Linked DNA regions of Homo sapiens: region 2 is linked to region 1. The links are contacts of gene promoters, found by promoter capture Hi-C in human tissues and cell types (Jung and others, 2019). All regions are on one chromosome and are shown on one strand. The core of a region is centred on a gene start or on the middle of the fragment in contact, and the rest is flanking DNA. Distances in the headings are between cores, read along the strand shown. Region 1 holds the start of PTPN13 (protein tyrosine phosphatase non-receptor type 13). Region 2 overlaps AFF1 (ALF transcription elongation factor 1).

What was found. The method cuts DNA at HindIII sites, captures the fragments that hold promoters and counts their contacts. A contact is called where the count stands out against the background at its distance.
Region 2: a contact is called between a fragment that was not itself captured here and the fragment with the promoter of PTPN13 in region 1, in 1 of the 25 tissues and cell types used here (hippocampus).

Annotation. Positions count from the first base shown.
Region 1 is chr4:86,592,724-86,595,753 of GRCh38, reverse strand. PTPN13 (protein tyrosine phosphatase non-receptor type 13) reads right to left here and starts at 1,439. Exons shown (of 48, transcript NM_080683.3): 1 at 965-1,439. It also overlaps a transcript of MAPK10 not described here. RefSeq lists an enhancer at 1,202-1,788. The HindIII fragment of the contact is 10,688 bases long and covers 1-3,030 here.
Region 2 is chr4:87,117,104-87,120,133 of GRCh38, reverse strand. The region is part of intron 12 of AFF1 (ALF transcription elongation factor 1); the gene reads right to left. Among named protein-coding and RNA genes, the nearest start is that of KLHL8, 100 kb to the left of the region's middle. RefSeq lists an enhancer at 1-3. The HindIII fragment of the contact is 4,409 bases long and covers 1-3,030 here.

The DNA.
Region 1 (3,030 bases), core at 190-2,689:
CATTTTGTTCAGGTCCTGCCTTGAAAACAAACCCGATTGCCCCATTTTCTGCGAGGGAGCTCAGCTCCAGGCAGCTCCCTATGAAGTCACCGCGTTTGTTGTTTCAAAGATGCAATTAAATGAAAATGACACAAGGCTGTCGAACAGATTAGTTGGAAGTGTGCGGTGGTGTCGATCATATACGTGTATGGCCAATGAAAACTGTATTGCTGTAAATCTCTTAGTGATATTTCTCCCCATCCTCCTCTCTCCATTATATTCACAACAGAAGGAAATTAAACTTTGTAAGAATTTTCTTGACTTTGGTTTAACTTTAGCTTCCCAGCTGTCTGCTCTTACAGTATCACGTAATGAGCAAAGCGGTGGGGCTAGGGGGCCGGAGGGTAGAGTGTTAACTTTAGCAAGCAGAAGAAAAGCAATAAAAGACCTTGCATCAGACAGTGTCTCTCCCTCTGCCCCCTCTTCCTCTGCTTCCCCGCCATCCCACCCCCTTCTCGAGCCCTTACACACACATTCTTCTGGGCGGCCTCTAACCACACCATCTCCACAATCATTTGCAGAAATTAGAAACAGACTCCGGGAGCCCTTCCCTTAAGCACGCACAGAGCGGAGCTGTGCAAGCACGACGGGGCAATGTCACTCCCTATTACCCCACAATCTCTTACTCCCCCTGTGGGTTTCATTCCCGAGAATCCGGCTTTCTTCCGCAGAGGAGATGGATCTACCTAATTAGCAATGGAGTTTCATCTCATTCTTCCCCACTCCAGTCACCCCACCCCCACTCTAACGTACAAAAACACCCACCACCAAAACCAAAGAAAAGTTCCTTCTACCAGGGCAACCGAGGAGTTGGGTTTAGGGACTGGAGCGAAAGCAGAGAGAGGAGGAAGAGAACGAGCGCAATGTACTTTGTTTTGCACTTCTGCACATGCAGCGCAGAGCCCAGGGCGGCTCTCGTCCTTACCGGCTGGTCCCGAGACCGGGTCCTGCTACTGGAGCGCCGGGCGAGGGCTGCAGGGACGCGGCGTCGGGGCGGGCCGCCGGCAGCCGCCGCGGGCGCCGAGAGCCACCACCACTTCTCCCACAAGCGGCTGCGGGCGTGGGCTGAAGGAGCTGTAGAAGGAGCCTGGGGAGGGGGAGAAGAGGAGCAGCATCTCCTCCTCCTCCTCCTCGCCTCGGAAACGCTCCCCAGCGGCGATCCCGGCCGACTGCCTGACCCCCGAGCGCTCAACGCACCCCCGCCGCCCTACTGTGCTCGACGCCTCTCCAAGAGCTTCGCCAAAACCTTCTGGCGCGGGCGGCTCAACTCCTGTAGGCGACTCTGACCGCTGCCGAGGCGGACCGGGGAGCTACGGAGCACGGCTCGCCAGCACGACGGTCTCCAGGGGCCGTGAGCATGGTGTGTCACCCTCGCCTCAGCGTGGCCGCTGGAGCTACTCGCACCACTGGGGCTCCACCTCGGGCAGCCGCGCCGGCTCCGCCCCCCCGGTCCTGTCACTCAACCATTCCCCGGCACTGGGAGGACCGCAGATCTCCCACCCCGAGCTCCCCTCGACCTCATTGGCCCGCCTGGCATCCAGCTCCACCTCCTCCCTAGGGACGAGGTCGCCAGGGAGACCAGCGCCCCGGTTGCCATGACAACCAGTGCCTTGGGCCTGGCTTTTCGCGTTCTTCGGACTAGCCAGAGGCTCAGGTTGGTGACCGAGCGGCAGAGTTCCTAGCGCCTGCAGTGTGGTGAACTCCAACTTTTAGGCCAAGTTGAAAATGCAGCCGACGACCCCCACACTTCTAACTTCAGAATCAAAACTATGACCCTAGGGAGTGAGGAGGAGAGTGAAAAATGCGTAAGTGCTGGCTCCTCCCTTACTCTTCGCTGCCTCTCAGCCTTGTTTCTATATTCTCACGGGGCGCTTTGGTCTTTGAAAGGAAGAGGAGAATGGGGGAGAGGAAGAGCATGGCTTTGCCAGCTCCTTGCAGCAATATAGCAACTTAGAAATGGCGGGGTCAACGAAAAAAGCCCGGTGAGTTTTCCCACGGTTGTAAAGCTATCTTCAAAAGTGTGGTGACAGCACAACGCCAAATGCCCTAGGGAAAACTGAAATTCTCATATTTTTGAAAAAAGTTTGTAAATACTTGCCTTGTTATTTTATCTATGAGACTAAAATAATCCCGAAGTTTGAAAATTTAAGGAAAAGGTTTAACATAGTCGATAACCTCCCACTTTTCTATATACACTGAAATTTGGCCAAGGTATATCCAGACAGCTGTACCCCTCCTTGCTGCAAGCCGAAATATTTGAGTTTCAATAGTTAAACAAGAGAGTCTTGCTGAATTCATGAACAAATAATATCCTGTGATTTGAGTTTTGAAAGTTTTGGGTTATTCTCAGAGGTATAAGGTAAACTGGTCCACTCTGGAAAGGGTACCTGAAGATAAATTTAGTCTGAGACCCTTAATGTTGAGCCCTAGGTAAATCTGAATTTCATGGCTGGCTCCAAAGTGGAGAGATCTGAGGCTTATTTGGCTTCCCCAAAAAAAGTCAAAGCAGCAATCCTAGGTTCCCTAGCCCCTGAGGCTGCCATACATGTATGATGAATGAGGGAATTAATAGTAATGATTTATCTTTGGCGAGCACTTGAGTTTTCATTATATCATTTACTAAATGAATAACTATGATAGATATCTTCAGTCAAATATGCCTTACAAGTATGCATTGAATGTGATTACTCATAGGGCTAAACACAACGGAAAATACACAGCAGGATTTTAAGCTAAGTCCCCGCTCCCAAGGAGCTAACCTGGAGCCTAAGAAAGAAAACTAGCACTCTTGAAACAATTTGAGAACAATTATAGCTAAAATGTGCAGCCAAACTTTGAGTAGGTAGCAGCTAAGAGAAAGTTTGCTATGTAAAATGGGCTGGATTCCTCAGTTTATGGAAGAGGGGAATTTACACTGGGCTTTGATGAATGCAGCAAAGATGAGGAAAGTCAGTTGAGGGGAACAACAAAAACTAAACAGCAGCAGCAGGG
Region 2 (3,030 bases), core at 265-2,764, 520 kb before region 1:
GAGGGAACGCATGATTCAGAACAGCCTAAGCTATCACATGCATATGGTTGTGGTGCTCTCCTCAGGGTAACTAACAGGCACGAAGAAATTTAGATGTAAGTGGCCTTAGTCAATCAGAAGGGATGAGCTTTCATTTTGAACGATAACTAGGGGTGCTGATCTGGAGCAATAACCCAAGAAAAGACAGTCAGATCTTGGATGGAAGGGAAGGACTGAACCAATCACTCCCTGCAATAAAACTGCATTTTCCTACTACACATCATAACTTCCCTTCCTCACTCTTCAAAACGCATAAATGATAGCACTGGAATGTCTTTCCCAAAAAAGTTGAAGTGTCTTGGTCAGCAAAGCGATTATTTAGAAAAAGTAAAAAAGATTTGAATGAATGCACCTCCTTATTCAGTTATTCATCTAAATGACAATTAAGACAGACTATCCTTCATTTGAAAGGAATCTGTAAGATGACTGAATGAAGTGAGGAATTATCTCTATGAGCTCCTAGAACAATGCAAGGCTCACACATGTAGCTCTATGCACGTTACGTGTTTATTTTTCTTTTTTTAGAGACAGGGTCTTACTCTGTTGCCCATGCTGGAGTGCAGTGACTCAATCACAGCTCCCTGCAACCTTTAACTCCTGGGCTCAAGTGATCCTCCCACCACAGCTTCCCGAGTAGCTGGGACCTCAGGCATGCGCTACTGTGCCTAATTTTTTTTTTTCAGAGACAGTGTCTCACAGAGTTGCCCAGGCTGGTCTTGAACTCCTGGGCTCAAGCAATCCACCCGCCTCAGCCTCTCAAAGGGCAGGGATTACAAGTGTGAGCCACTGTGCCCAGCCAGGTACATTTTTAGAGGGCTCCCAATTGCACTGGCCTGGTTGTGTATTACTGTATATATTGTGGTTCTTGAGTTCAACTTTTCTTCCAAATCTGGAAAAAAATAAGCTTGGTTTAAGAATTCTGAAGAAGAAAACATAGGCCAGGCATGGTGACTCATGCCTGTAACCCCAGTGAGGCAGGAGAATAGGGTCTGGAGGCAGGGAACCTAAGGCCCACCCACCCTGACTGGATATAAGATATAACCCCTCCTTTTTCTGTGTGGAAAATGAAAGTAACTCTGATTGGTCCCCCCTACAACCAATCAGACTAGTCGTGGACCACTAGAGTGAACCAATGGGAAACCAATGGGAAACCTCTAGAAGGCATATAAACCCCAGAAGAACCAGTGTTCCTGAGCCTCTTGCTTCAGCCGGCTCCCACCCTGTGGAGCATACTTTCATTTAAAATAAATCTCTGCTTTCACTGCCTTGGTTTTTTGTGCATTTTGTCCAATTCTTTGTTCAAAACACCAAGGAGCTAGACAACTACCCTCAACCAGTAATGCCACTGCTTTGGGAGGCTGAGGTAGGATTGCTGGAGGCCCAGAGCTCAAGACCAGCCTGGGCAACAAAGTGAAACCCCATCTCTACAAAAAATAAATTAGCTGGGTACAGTGGCATGTGCCTGGAGGCTGAGGCAGGAGGGTCACCTGAGCCCAGGAGTTTGAGGTTGGTGAGCTATGCCACTGCATTCCAGCCTGGGCAACAGAGCGAGACCCTGTCTCTAAAAAATAAGTAATTAACAGAATAGTCTCTAAGCTAAAAATAAAAAAATTTTAAAAGAAAACATAAGTTGGTATTAGAAAATCTAAACTGTAATCAGACTGATGAAATTCAGTAGTTTATGTAAAGAACACGACGTGAGGTCATGCGTATTTACCCTCACAGTTTTCTCTACTTTTCCTCATGCATTGTTCCTTACCCACTGTTGTAGAGTAGTAAAAAAACGTGTGCATTTCTATAGGTGCCATGTCTAATGGCTTCATCACAGCTGTTAGCCATCATTAACTCTTTATGATCATCTTCATACACTTTTAAGTCTGAAGTGGATTCAAGGATCTGTAAATCTTCTGAAAGAAAATATTTGGCTAAATTTTGTGCCAAGAGAGGGACAGACTCTAAGAGGCCTTTAAATAAAAACACTAAATACCACTAATGTGAAGGATCAAGCAAGTTCTTCTATTCCTCTGACTATATGCTCAGAGTTTTTTCTAATGTTCACATTTAAAATGAACACAATGAAAAATATCTTCATTATCCAAATGTGAGCAGTACCCAAGCTTCACAGCCCTGTCTCTGCCATGGAGAGCAGGCCCACACACTGCTGCCTGCTGGAGCAACCGTGCTGGTCACAGGGCCAGAGGCAGAGAGCCCTAACAAGCAGTCAGGGCGCTAATGAGGAAGGGGGGACAACCTGTCCTCTACAGAAAATAATGAGATTAATATGTTCAACAACTCCCATCCAGAATCCAGCAGGAAGTTAAACCAAACGACACATGATTCTCTGACGAAGAAATAAGAATACGGTTGACTGGTTTTTTATATTTATTTACCTGAAAGCTTCTAATGTTTCTAACTAGTGACATATTTCAGGCCAGGAATTCTGTTTGCCTAGATCATGATGTCTAAACACTGCACACTTGACCAACTTTGGATCCAAATAACTAGCTTTGTATGCTCTTGGGCCCTGCAGTACGGCTCTGCTTCAGTGGTTTCCAGCCCTGATAGGCACTAGGATTACCAGAGGAATTTTTAAAATACCAATGGGGGTTGGGGATTCCCGTCATCAGTGCTAAAGGCTACCAGGTGAATGTAATGTGTAGCCGGGGTTTGGAACCAGTGGGTCAGACATCAATCCTGACAGTACCACGGAGGCAGACTGTTCCCCAGGCCAGATCTCTCAGCAGCTTGACAGCGCTTTAAAGAAATCATGCACTCGATTAAGATGAAGGGATCACTATTTCTGCATGCTCTAAACAGAAAGATAAATAAGCTGCCCAAGAGGTGCTCAGCCAAAACCTGGGAACGGCTTATAGAGGGCACAGTTCCCACAGTCAACAGTGAGAGCTGAAAGTTTCCCTTTCTAGAGCCACAAGCTGCACTTCTAGATTTGCACTGGGGTATGAACTGGACTGAGCTCTCTGGGGGATCCTC